Linked DNA regions of Homo sapiens: all the other regions are linked to region 1. Evidence: promoter capture Hi-C in 16 types of primary human blood cells and fetal thymus (Javierre and others, 2016). All regions are on one chromosome and are shown on one strand. Each heading gives the region's core, a stretch centred on a gene start or on the middle of the fragment in contact. The rest is flanking DNA. Distances are from core to core; before and after follow the strand shown.

Evidence for each region. The method cuts DNA at HindIII sites, captures the fragments that hold promoters and counts their contacts. A CHiCAGO score of 5 or more calls a contact.
Region 2: a fragment that was not itself captured here is called in contact with the fragment with the promoter of WDR43 in region 1 in 1 of 17 cell types (total CD8 T cells); the score reaches 5.5 in total CD8 T cells.
Region 3: a fragment that was not itself captured here is called in contact with the fragment with the promoter of WDR43 in region 1 in 2 of 17 cell types (naive CD4 T cells and activated CD4 T cells); the score reaches 5.4 in naive CD4 T cells.
Region 4: a fragment that was not itself captured here is called in contact with the fragment with the promoter of WDR43 in region 1 in 1 of 17 cell types (naive CD8 T cells); the score reaches 5.3 in naive CD8 T cells.
Region 5: a contact is called between a fragment that was not itself captured here and the fragment with the promoter of WDR43 in region 1, in 1 of 17 cell types (total CD8 T cells). The highest score is 5.1, in total CD8 T cells.

Annotation. Positions count from the first base shown.
Region 1 is chr2:28,893,407-28,895,931 of GRCh38, reverse strand. WDR43 (WD repeat domain 43) reads right to left here and starts at 1,265. Exons shown (of 18, transcript NM_015131.3): 1 at 1,009-1,265. The coding sequence starts at 1,233. RefSeq lists enhancers at 1-497, 572-671, 498-1,121 and silencers at 772-891, 912-961, 1,002-1,061, 1,202-1,281. The HindIII fragment of the contact is 5,798 bases long and covers 1-2,525 here.
Region 2 is chr2:28,558,861-28,561,385 of GRCh38, reverse strand. The region is part of intron 17 of PLB1 (phospholipase B1); the gene reads right to left. Among named protein-coding and RNA genes, the nearest start is that of PLB1, 64 kb to the right of the region's middle. The HindIII fragment of the contact is 780 bases long and covers 869-1,648 here.
Region 3 is chr2:28,582,553-28,585,077 of GRCh38, reverse strand. All of the region lies in intron 25 of PLB1 (phospholipase B1), which reads right to left. Among named protein-coding and RNA genes, the nearest start is that of PLB1, 88 kb to the right of the region's middle. RefSeq lists an enhancer at 554-613. The HindIII fragment of the contact is 5,337 bases long and covers 1-2,525 here.
Region 4 is chr2:29,198,947-29,201,471 of GRCh38, reverse strand. The region is part of intron 26 of ALK (ALK receptor tyrosine kinase); the gene reads left to right. Among named protein-coding and RNA genes, the nearest start is that of CLIP4, 85 kb to the right of the region's middle. The HindIII fragment of the contact is 956 bases long and covers 790-1,745 here.
Region 5 is chr2:29,180,737-29,183,261 of GRCh38, reverse strand. It overlaps CLIP4 (CAP-Gly domain containing linker protein family member 4), which reads right to left. Exons shown (of 16, transcript NM_024692.6): 16 at 1-1,690. The coding sequence ends at 1,369. Among named protein-coding and RNA genes, the nearest start is that of CLIP4, 67 kb to the right of the region's middle. The HindIII fragment of the contact is 223 bases long and covers 1,147-1,369 here.

The DNA of each region.
Region 1 (2,525 bases), core at 16-2,515:
GTCGTCAGAGAGAGTAAGATCCTAAATAGCTTTTACAGTTCTCCACATTGAAACAGCTCACATCACACACCTCAGGATACCTGATGTTTCCAAATCACTTTGCAGTGATTCGGTTTGGCTACTCTGTAAACGCAATAACCACGTGCATGCTGAGTTAGAGAGATGTAGCTGAGTGACTCAACAGTGAAAGGCATTTACCTGACACGGGTCCCTAACAATGAAAAGCTCTGCCTAACTCGGCAGTTTTCCATCTAAGGGTAATTTCATCTGCACTCATAAAACATTCACTAAATCAAGCTACTACTTCACTTAACCTCCACATCCTAATACAGACTTCAGATTGGGGTGGGTGGGGAGCAGTGTGATCGGCTTGAAAGCGGGGCGGGAGGGGCGAGCAGATGTTAAAATCAAAAAGCAGTGAGTTCAAAAAGCTGAGAATGTAGAGGTGCCTGGGAAAGGCAAAAGTTAAGAGTTGAGAGTCCCACAACCTGGACGGGGACGAGAACACGTGGTGAGCCGGCACCCAAAGGGGGGGCAGGAGGGGGAAGGTCCGGAAGCAAGTACAGACTAGTCCATACCAACTGCCCAGTGCAAAACTGATGAGCCGGATCACAGACAGAGGAAAGTTAGATAGTCCCAAGATGGGGCTCTGTCAAAAACCAGAACTCTGATGAGCCAAGGCCCGGCAGAAGGAAGCCGCCCCAGGGGGACCAGGGGACTTGGCGAACATGGCTGCCCGTCAACAGTGGGGCCCAGGCCTCATTGGGCCAGCCGGCAGGGCTCGGATACGAGGCCGGCCGGGTCGAGCTGCGCCCTCCCTCACTGCCCTCGCGGCAGGCCGCACGCGGGGCTGGCGGCTTGGGCCCTGAACGCGCCGACGCCGCCTCCAAGCCTTCTGGCCCGGGCCGCTGAGAGCCACGCGCGATGCCGGACCACGCGCCACCCGGCCCGGAGGCCCGAAGCCGAGCCCGGGAAGGCGCCCGCCCCGCGCAGTCCCGCTCGCTTTACCTTGGCCTGCAGCCGCGCTGGCGCCCAGGCCAGACAGGTGCAGGTACCACTGAGGTGCGCGGAAGGCACGTACTCCTGGTGCAGCCGGTTGTTGGCCGTCTCCCATACTCGTAAGTGACCGTCGGTAGAGGCCAAAGCGAAGTAGGCCTGGCTGTGCGGGGAGAAGGCGCAAGGGACCCCAGCAGGGGCCAGGGGGTCGCAGCTACCGCCGCCGCCCGCCGCCATTGCTGCTCTGGCCCCGCTGCAGCCACGTGTTCGTCCGTGCGCAGGCGCACCGGCGCGGGGCGGAGCCTGGAGGAGGAAGTGAGGCGGAGGGAGCGCCGGGGGCTCAGGGAGTGGATCTTCGCGTCGCAGGAGAGCTTCTGGCGGATCCGCCCTGTGGACGGTGGCCCGCTAGGGCCTGTCGCTATCTTGTTCTGGGCGGGAGTGGGAGTATGGGAGAAAGTAATTGTAGAATTAAGATCAAGTCCTGTTCCTTTAAAAAAAAAAAAAAAGGGGGGGGGCCGGGCGCGGTGGCTCACGCCTGTAATCACAGCACTTTGGGAGGCCGAAGTGGGCGGATCCCCTGAGGTCGGAGTTCGAGACCAGCCTGACCAACATGTAGAAACCCCCGTCTCTACTAAAAATAAAAAAATTAGCCGTGGGCTGGGCGCGGTGGCTCACGCCTGTAATCCTAGCACTTTGGGAGGCCGAGGCGGGTGGATCATAAGGTCAGGAGTTCAAGACCAGCCTGGCCAAGATGATGAAACCTCGTCTCTACTAAAAATACAAAAAAATTAGCCGGGCTTGGTGGTTGGCACCTGTATGTAATCCCAGCCACTCGGGAGGCTGAGGCAGAGAATTGGTTGAACCCGGGAGGCGGAGATTGCAGTGAGCCGAGATCGCGCCCCTGCACTCCAGCCTGGGCGACAGAGCGAGACTCGTCTCAAAAAAAAAAAAAAAAAAAAAAAAAAAAAAAAAATAGCCAGGCGTGTGGCGCACGCCTGTAATCCCAGCTACTCGAGAGGCTGAGGCAGGAGAATCGCTTGAACTCGGGAGATGGAGGTTGCTGTGAGCCGAGATCGCGCCATTATACTCCGGGCAACAAGAGTGAAACTCCGTCTTAAAAAAATAAATAATAAATAAATAACAATTTTTTAAAACTTTAAAGAAAATGATAAGGTAGAACGAAAGGTTTGAAGGAAATCTTCAGCCGAGCGCGGTGGCTTACACCTATAATCCCACTTTGGGAGGCCGAGGCGGGCAGATCGCCCGAGGTCAGAGTTCGAGACCAAGCTAGGCAAAATGGCGAAACCTTGTCTCTACTAAAAATACTAAAATTAGCCGGGTGTGGTGGTGTGTGCCTGTAGTCCCAGCTACTCGGGAGACTGAGGCAGGAGACTCCTTGAACCCGGGAGGTGGAGGTTGCAGTGAGCCGAAATCGCCACGCCACTGCACTCCAGTCTAGGTGACAGAGCGAGACTGTCTCAAAAAAAAAGAGAGAGAAAAGAAGTCTTCACTTTCAAATTGATAATGAT
Region 2 (2,525 bases), core at 9-2,508, 330 kb after region 1:
TGCTTATCTTTTTGAGGAAGCATCAAGCTGTTTTCCACAGCTTGACTATACATATTTTTATCTTTTGAGTTTGAGCATTCCGTGTGATGTGGCAGCTATTAACTCACAGGACAAACATGTTGAACACGAAGCAGTGGCTGGGTGCTTTGGAGACCACACAGTGATCAGAAACAGAGAATGCCCTCAAAAAGCTCACAAGCTAAGGAGAAAATGAGAAATAGCCATAGTTATTATAGTGTAAGACCGATAAACACTAAAAGAGGTGTGAAGTGATGTGAAGCTATAGAGCTGGAGGGATGATCTTCCCCTGGGGGGCCTGAGGAGGGGGTCACAGCAGGCTTCATGGAGAAGGTCGCATTTGAATTAAGCCTCAGGAATAACAGGAGGATGAGGGAGAGCGAGATCGGGTGATGGAGGGAAAAGCGTGATGGATGGATGTGGTAGGGTCGAGCTTGGATGTCTCGAAAGCCCAGCTAGTCACAGTTTGGCTTGCATGAAGCATATATGAGAGAGCAAAGAGAAAACCACCTTGGAAAGGTAGGTTAGGGCCACAGGGCCTAACCAATATCTGGTAACCAGTAATCTGCTTTCTGCCTCTATAGATTTATCTATTCTGGATATTTCATGTAAATAGAATAATATAATACGTGACTCTTTGTGTCTGGCTTCTTCTACTTTGCATAATGTTTTCAAGGTTCAATTATGTTGTAGCATCTATCAATATATTCGTTTTATTTTTATTTTTCGAGACAAGGTCTCACTCTGTCACCTAGGCTGTGGCGTGTGATCATGGCTCACTGCAGCCTCGGCCTCCTGGGCTCAAGCGATCCTCCCACCTCAGCCTCCTGAGTAGCTGGGATTATAAGCTTTTATGCCTGGCTAACAAGTTAGGAGTTTAACATAGATATTGCTATATATGTAATTACTCACATACACACACAGGTACTACATCTACCTACCCCTTTACCTTATACACATAAGAAAGTGAATCCTAGTGTATTTGGGGGACCACCCCTAGAATTTCTTAAGCCATATATAGCTTGGTCTCTCAAGTCACAAGCTCACCTCCCACTCCCCCAATTACCTCACCCCCAAGGTCACCCTGACTTGGCCATAGCTCTACCTTTGCCGATGTGCTTCTATTGTGTCTAGTGGCACAACGCTGCACTAAATTATTGAAATAGCTCTTGTGGTTTGGAAGAAGCCTAGTACAGAGTTTGTACCAAGGAGTGGCCCACCCTGGTACATTTCAGTGGTTAAGTGCTTAAGAAGGATAAACTGAAAGTTGTCTGCAGGAGGCTTTCTCAACAGCCTTCTTTGCCAAAGACAGTTTATAAAGCCTGTAGCGTGACCAGATTACAATCCCAGCACTTTGGGAGGCCGACACGGGCAGATCACCTGAGGTCAGGAGTTTCAGACCAGCCTGTCCAAAATGATGAAACCCCGTCTCTACTAAAAATACAAAAATTAGCCAGGCATGGAGGTGTGCTCTTATAGTCCCAGCTATTTGGGAGGCTGAGGCATGAGAATTGCTTGAACCTGGGAGGAGGAGGCTGCAGTGAGCCGAGATTGCGCCACTGCAATCCAGCCTGGGAGATAGAGCGAGACTCCGTCTCAAAAAAAAAAAAAAAAAAAAAAAAAAAAAGCTTTCAGGCCTGCAGTGAAACACAGGGTGAGATGATTTTGACACAGCTGGACTATATACAACCCACAGCACCCATCAACATCCAAATCATGGCTGTGGAATTGTACCTGTGCAGGAAGCCGGATTAACATTGAGTGGAAAACATACTCAAGGGACTTCCAGGTCTCCAAGGTCTCGTCTCCTTTCATGGAGACATCTTGTCTACCTTCTTTCATGCTGTCTGCAATGGGGAGAGCCACTCCCAATGAGGATTTGCTCTCATTGGAAAAGTAAAAGTTCTTGCCTCTTCCTATGAAAGGATACAAACTCACACATACATAGTTGTAAATATATGTGTGCAAAACATATAGAGCAGCGGTCCTCCAATTGAGCCTGCATCGGAATCACCTGGAGAGCCTGTGAAAACACAGATGGCTGGGCCCCACCTTCAGAATTTTTGACTCAATAGGTCTGGGGTGGGCCCAAGGATTTGCATTTCCAACAAGTTTCCAGGTAATGCTGATGCTGCCAGTCCAGTCTGGGTACCACATTTTCAGAACCACTGATAGAGACACTCGATTATCAAAGCCATTGACTGCAGTCAAGTACTGCGCTTGGACCTGAAAAACCTGGAATCAAGCCCAGGAGGCAGAGGCTGCAGTGAGCTATGATTGCACCACTGCACTCCAGCCTGGGCAACAAAGTGAGACTGTCTGTAAAAAATTAAATAAATATTTGGCTGCGTGTGATGGCTCATGCCTATAATCCCAGCACTTAGGGAGGCCAAGTTGGGAGGATCACTTGAGCCCAGAAGTTCGAGACCAGCCTGGGCAATATAGTGAGACTCCTTCAATAAAAAAGAAAAAAAAGACTAGAGTTGTTTCTCCTGTGTGTATGTATA
Region 3 (2,525 bases), core at 10-2,509, 310 kb after region 1:
AATTAACATTGAACACTGTACCAAGCACTGCAATAAAAACTTTATGGGTATTAACCTGTTTAGTCCTCCCAGCCATTCTAGAAGTGGTATTCTCATTATCCCTGTTTTAGAGATGAGGAAACCCAGGCTCAGGGTGGTTGAGTAACTTTCTCAAGGTTGCATGGGTGCTGAGTGTGGGAGCTAGGACTTGAACTCAAGTCTGCCTGGCTCTGAACCTGAGCTCTTAATCTCTATGTTAAACTGCTTCCATCCAATCTGCAGCTCTGACCCGGCCAGCTATCTGGCACATCTGGGCTTTTGGTCCAGGGGGATGAGGTGATAACAGCAGGGATGGCTCCGTGTAGACTCAGCACTGCAGAGGAAAGCACAGCCACCCGATGAAACAGTGGAGAGGCGGGGAGTGCAGGGCACTGCAGAGGTGGCAGGAGAAGGTGACCTGAGTCTATCCAACCTTGACATTCAGTGACTTGGCCATCTCAGATCTGTGAATGGGCCTGGCAAATGCCTATTTTGAACCTTGAGTTTGAATGGTCTAAAAAACCCTGCCAAGATGGGTAGCAAGAGGCTTTCTGGTAAACTGCTCTGAAATGGAGTGAAGACACCGATCCCCTGTGTGGCCCAGTGACTGGAGAAAGTGTGAGCCAGCGGATGAGTCAGCAGTTGGAAATAGCATGCCTGACACCAGCTGCGTTCATAGGAACATGTCACCCAAGCAACCATCCTGTCTCTGCTCACAGCACCGTGAGGCCTTCTCCAGGGGACCTGTGCGGTTTGGGTCCCCCAGGTGAGGCATGGCATGGATCTGCAGAGGAGCAGGAAAGGTACCCCTTAACTTCCAAGAGCAAGTCTGGCCCTTGTGAATTATTCAGTCATTCAGCAAACAGCAGCTGAGCCCCTACACCATGCTAGCAGTGACTCAGGCTGAGTTCACAGGCTGTGGGGGAGGGAGGCACATGAGTAATTACCATGTGATGTGCTCAGGGCTGGGGTGGGGACCTGTACCGAGTAACAGAGCTGGGGGGCAGGGTAGGGGAGCACAGTCTCAGTGACCTTGGCTAACAGTCCAGAGGAAAACCTGCAGGAAGGAAGGCTGCGGAAAACGTTCATGCTTCACTTAGAGGAACGTCTTATTCCTGACGGTCCTGGAGATGTGTGATACAGGCTGGGTCTCCCTTATCTGAAATGCTTTGAGCCAGAAGCATTTCAGATTTCAGATTTTTTTTTTTTTGGAATATTTGCATTACCCTATGGCTATCGTTTTAAGCCACATCTTTACCACACAGAGAATGAGCAAAAACTAGGTGAGTAATGCACGCAGGTCTTAGCCCCACATGAGCCATTATGGGGAACCTGTTGTTGGAGCATCCGGCCTGCACATGTGCCATTTTGCTACCCTTTGTGGGCATGCTTGAGCCGCAGGATCTGGGCATGCCCAGAAAAGAGAGTGCATCGCAGCTGAAGGAGGCTTTTTGGGGATGCTGAATAAACTGCGTGCTGTGCACCTGTGTTTTCACTACAACCTGTCACATGAAGTCAGGTGTGGAATTTTCCCCTTGTGGTGTCATGTCAGCACTTTAAAAGTTTTGGATTCGGGGCCAGGCATGGTGGCTTCACGCCTGTAATCCCAGCACTTTGGGAGGCCGAGGAGGGTGGATCACCTGAGGTCAGCAGTTCGGGACCAGCTTGGCCAACATGATAAAACTCCGTCTCTACTAAAAATACAAAAATTAGCTGGGCATGGTGGTGTGCCTGTAATCCCAGCTACTAAGGAGGCTGAGGTGGGAGAATTGCTTGAACCTGGGAGGCGGAGACTGCAGTGAGCCAAGATCATGCCACTGCACTCCAGCCTAGGCAACAGAGCGAGACCCTGTCTCAAAAAAAAAAAAAAGTTTTGGATTTTGGAGCATTTCAGATTTCAGATTTTCGGATGAGGGATGCTCAGCCTGTATTAGAAGGGGAAGCCAGCTCTGTCTGGCTCTGGAGGCTGAGGGGTGAAGACGTCCTCTCAGGCACCTTCTCAGGACCAGGGTTCTCTACTCTCTGGGGAGGACTCTGTCCTCTGGACCCTGCTAATTCTGGTTTGACCTCCTTCTCTGGCAGGTGACAGTGGCCCTATATCTGTGAATGCTTTACATGGAACACCCATACCAACCAGAGGCACCCCTGTCCTAGAGATGGGCCTCTAGGAGGGGGCAGATCAGCTCTGGACACACTTGGAAGTAGGTCCCAGCAGTGGCCTGGGCGGTCCCCGGGCCTCAGACACACAGCTTGACTCCATTCCTAGCGTTTTACTCTTCCCTCTGGAGGCCTGGAGGGTGCCTTGTGGCTGCCATGGCAACAGAGGCGGGGTGCAGGGGTAGTTCCCCATGCACACCCTGAGGTGGGCTGAGGCCTACACCAGGGTGGAAAAATCCTAGGATATCCTCCCCTTAGGCTTTTCCAGGTTAGAAGATGGGGTGGTCACAGCCCTTTCACACTTCGGCCCTTGGGTTTTCTAAGGAATTTGCTAAGGGTGCCACTGCCCT
Region 4 (2,525 bases), core at 18-2,517, 310 kb before region 1:
TGCTGACTGTTGGATGGGAAGTGGAGGGGTGTGGGATAACGGAGTCAAGGATGACTCCTGGGTTTTGGGCTTGAACAAATGCATAACCAGAGGTGCTGCTGAGTTGGGAAAGAATGAAAGAGGAGATGGTGTGGGTTCAGAAGGAGTTCCGTTTGGGCATGTTAAATTTGAGTTGCCTATTAAAATAGGCCAGTGAAGCTAATGAGTGGGCATCTGATAGATGAAACTAAAGATCAGAGAACTGTATGAGATCTTGGTGTATGAGATCTTGGAATCCACTGGATGGACATTTAAAGATATTAATTTTTGGCTCCCATTTTTCCTAAGAGCATAACCTCTATCACACCTGGAGACCATCTTCCACAATGTTTTTTTTTTTCTTTAATCATAACCTCCTTTCAGGTTATGATTAAGGAGAAAAATGTAGCTTTTAAAGGCTGATACAGAACAGCTTGATATTTTAAAATCTTTTATCAGATTATCTTCATCGATTCAAATGTTTAACAGTTTAATCAGCAATAATGTTTGCTATTATTTCTATCAATCATTCCAGGCAGAGCAAGTTTAATACCAAAAGAAAGTGAAGTTTAAAAATATATATATACACATATATATACGTATCTATATACACACACATATATATACGTATATATGTATATACACACATATATATGTATACATGTATATACATATATATACGTATATATATACATATATACGTATATATATACGTATATATATACATATATACGTATGTATATTTGATTTTAAATGCTCTGGTGCAAAGCTTTGGGCTTTTGTCGCTCCTGTTTAGGGCAGGCTTATAGGTGATGAAAGAACCATCTGGCATACAAAATATAGATTTGCCTCATCTGTAGGGTTTCTAGATAAAATACAAAATGGTCAGTGAAATTGAATTTCAGATGCACAGCAAATAGTTTTTTAGTATAAATATTGGAGCATACATATACTAAAAAAACTATGTGTTGCTTATCTGGAACTCAAATTTAACTAGGTATCTGGTATTGTTTGCAAATATGAAAATCCTACTTATTCAAAATTGTCAAAGTTCTATGACCAATACTACTTCTTGCTCCCTTGAACTCTAAACTAAGAAAATAAATATTCATGTGCAGTTCTATTAGTGCTCTCAAAGGATGCTATAACCTATATCTATCTAGAAAAACAGAAAACATATAGCTATAATTCTTTAGGCCTTACTGCCAGTTTCTTGTTCATTTGATTTTGCCTAGTTAGTTTTGCCTTGAAGGGAAGTAAGATCACCAAACAGAAAGGAATAATATATGTGCCAGGCAATTTGTAAGTAGCAAAATCAAGAGATCTCCAAACAGAAAGGAATAATATATGTGCCAGGCAATTTGTAAGTAGCAAAATCAAGAGATCTAATAATGTATTCCAGTCTGTCTCGGATTAGTTGTATAATAACCTGTGCTTCAACCTTCTCACCTGAAAAATAGGGAAAATATCTTTGCCCAATCCTTCTCACAAGAGTCTTTGAAATTTCACACAGATGATGACAATAAAAGCACCCCATGTTTCTTAGAAGATGAAGGAACTATTGTTCTCTACAATTTTTGTGGTAATATTTGCTAACCTCAGAAAACTACAATCACACTAAAAGATAGTCTTTGTCAAAAAGCTGATCATTAGGTAGTGGTTTAAAGTTTTAATCAAAATATCAAAGGTGATTCTTTTAGAACACGAAGAATTCATCTCATAAAGCTTTTAAAAAAACAAATGAGAAATCAAATATTTTTTAAAGAGAAATAGAGAAAAATGCCTTTTCAGATTTAAGACAAATACACAGAAAGTAAAATAGAATGGTATCAATGCAAGAAGCAGACAAATAGATGAAGTGAAAATATAGCCAGAAACAGACCTGTTTTTAATCGTGAGTCAATGGGTAAGGAGGAAATTATCTTATGCATAGTGTTGGAAGAGTAGTTATTTGAAAAGCAAATCAATTTAGGTCCTTACCTCACACTAGACACCAAATTAAATTCCAACTAGATTTAAGAAGAGAGCAAAAACAAACACAACTAGAAGAAGATAGCAAATATTTATCTAATCTTTGGTGAAGGGAAGATTGTATAACTATAAAATAAAGGAAATCATGACATTAAAAAAATAGGTTTGACTATCTAAAAATAAAAATCTTTCTTTGGTATGCTAAAAAGTAGCATTAGAAAGCAACTAAGGCCAGGTGCGGTGTTTCACATCTGTAATCCCAGCACTTTGGGAGGCCGAGGTGGGTGGATCACCTGAGATCAGGAGTTCAAGACCAGCCTGGCCAACATGACGAAACCCTGTCTCTACTAAAAATACAAAAATTAGCCAGGTGTTGTGGTGGGCGCCTGTAATCCCAGCTACTTGGGAGGCTGAGGCAGGCGAATCACTTGAACCTGGAAGGTGGAGGTTGCAGTGAGCCAAGATGGCACCACTGCACTCCAGCCTGAGTAACAGAGTGAGACTACATAAAAAAAAAAAAAGAAAACAACTAATAA
Region 5 (2,525 bases), core at 9-2,508, 290 kb before region 1:
CAAGCTCCATTCTGAAGGATGCTTTTTAATCTTATAAAGCAAACTGTTCCAATATTTCTGTGGTAAAGTCTAAATATTTACAATAAAAGATGAATCTTTACACAGACAGGACATAAACTTCAATACCTAACCACAATGCAAACATTTTACATTATGACATCACTCTAATGTGAAGCTTAGTTTGTTAACATGTGCTCAAGAAGGAAAATAAAAACAATACAGTTCTGTAGCTTTGTAACAGGCAGAACTCTGCAACAATTAGAGAAATAAAAACAGCAAACAACACCAGTTCTATGAGTAACAAAACAAAAAAAATCCAGATATTATAAACATTTAAGTAAATAACTAATACATCCTTCCTGATATATCTTTATTTGCTCTCTTCTGTTAAATACGTTTTTTAAAATGTTTCTCATATCCCAGGAGGAAAGGACAGTAAATTATTCACAAAGATAAAAGTGCATCATGTTTGAAAAGTGCTTTGTGTTTATGTGTTACAAACATATCCAATAAGGAAGTTAAGTAAGTCTGTGCAAAAAAAATCTAATTATTACTTGAATTCATAAACCTTAATCATGGGTTTTTTGTAGTTCATCCAGATGAAGCAGTCAAGCAGCAGAAGAAAAATCTGAGATTAGACATTTTGTATAGCAGAAAGAGCACTGGGCCACAAGTGAGGAGACCCACAGTCTATTCTTAGCTCAGTTAACCAACCAGTTAGTGACCCCAGGTAAGACGGGCTTCCATTTCAGTATTTGGCAATGGGCAAGAAGCAGAGCTGGAGAGCCTCTAAGGCCCCTTCCAACTCCAAAATTATCATGTATCTTTAGATGAGGCATTTCTGAAAGGGCAAATAATTTTACCAAAATATAAAACTACATACTAGTCATCTAGCTACTACTCACTCATTGGACTTATTAGTAATAAAGCACAGAAAGAAAGAAAAATTCCAAAAATGATTGACAAAAAAAGGTCACGTGAACATTACACATAACCAAAGCTAGAGAAACCCTTCACAATTAGGGCACTAAGAAAAATCCATTATGATGTGCAAAAACAAAACAGAATAAGCAAGAAATGCAACAGCTGGTCACCTGATGGCACTTTTTCTTCCTGAGTCCCAGAATCTTCTTGGAACCTAAAGCTTTAATTGGTACTTATTTTGAAAATTGCTTTAAAAGAACCATGATTCCCCATAGTTCATATTCATGGCTTTGTAAAGAACTCTCTCTGAATTGTTATAATGGTTTTTAAGAAGATAACTATATTTTCAAAATTTTAATATGGCTAAATAAAGTAAACCATTTACCATGGACTCTTTATTTACACCAAATATATATATTTGAGCTTATTTAATATTTTAGAAGCTTAACAATTCTCATCCACAAGTTTTGACCCATTAATTCCCCGATAGGTCACTCTGCTCGGTCGAACTAAGACTCCATGGTTCGGCTTACAGGTGAAATAGCGCTTGTCACCCACTGACCCATCATTTTTTCCCTTGGCGCTTCGGAGCTCAAGTCCAAGCCAGATACCTGAAGCAAAGTCAGTGGGGCCCACATACCTAACAGTACCCATCTCATTGGAGCTCGTGAGCAGGACCTGAGACCCCTCGTGCAGCTTCACGCTCCCTTCAATGCCACCTGCGGTGGGGGTGCTGCTCCAACTGCGACGCAAAGCAGCTTTCGATCTGTGCGGAAGGGAAAAGTGGGAAAAATTATTTAGTGCTGAAGCCACGTAATGCAATGCATCATATTCATTTCCACTGCCAGATTCAGAATTCATTCACTCAGTTCCCAAAAGAGAATACTTTATGGTCACAACTTGATTTTTAAATTTTAAATAGCAGTTTTAGAGTATACAGTTGACCCATGAACTACACAGGTTTGAAGTACGTGGGTCCACGCATACACAGAAGTTTCTTCCACCTCCGCCACCTGGGACAACAAGACCAACCCCTTCTCTTCCTCCTTCTCCTCAGCCTGCACAAAGTGAGGACAATGAAGAAGAAGATCTTTATGATGATCCGCTTCTATTTCAGGAATAGTAAATATATTTTCCCTATGACTTTAACATTTTTTTCTCTTTATAGTAAAAATACAGTACATACTATATGTAACATACAAAATATGTATTAATCAGCTGTTTATGTTATAGGTAAGGCTTCCAGTCAACAATAGGCTATCAGTAGTTAAGTTTTGGGGGAGTCCAAAGTTACACACTGATTTTCAACTGTTGCAGGCAAGCAGGGGATGGCACTCCTAACCCCTGCACTCATTACTCAAAGTTCAACTGTACTTCTGTTTAACATTTTAAAAGTTTTTGTCTTTTGCGCTATTTTAAGACTACCCCATTCTGGATTTAAGATTTCATTTGCCATATATATATATATACATGTGTACACACACACACACACACACATACATATATATGCTTTCAGTAAAATAGCAATTAGAAAAAATACACTTATACCTAATTAATTTCTACCAGTATTATCAAATAACGCAAAAAGAATCTAGTATTTT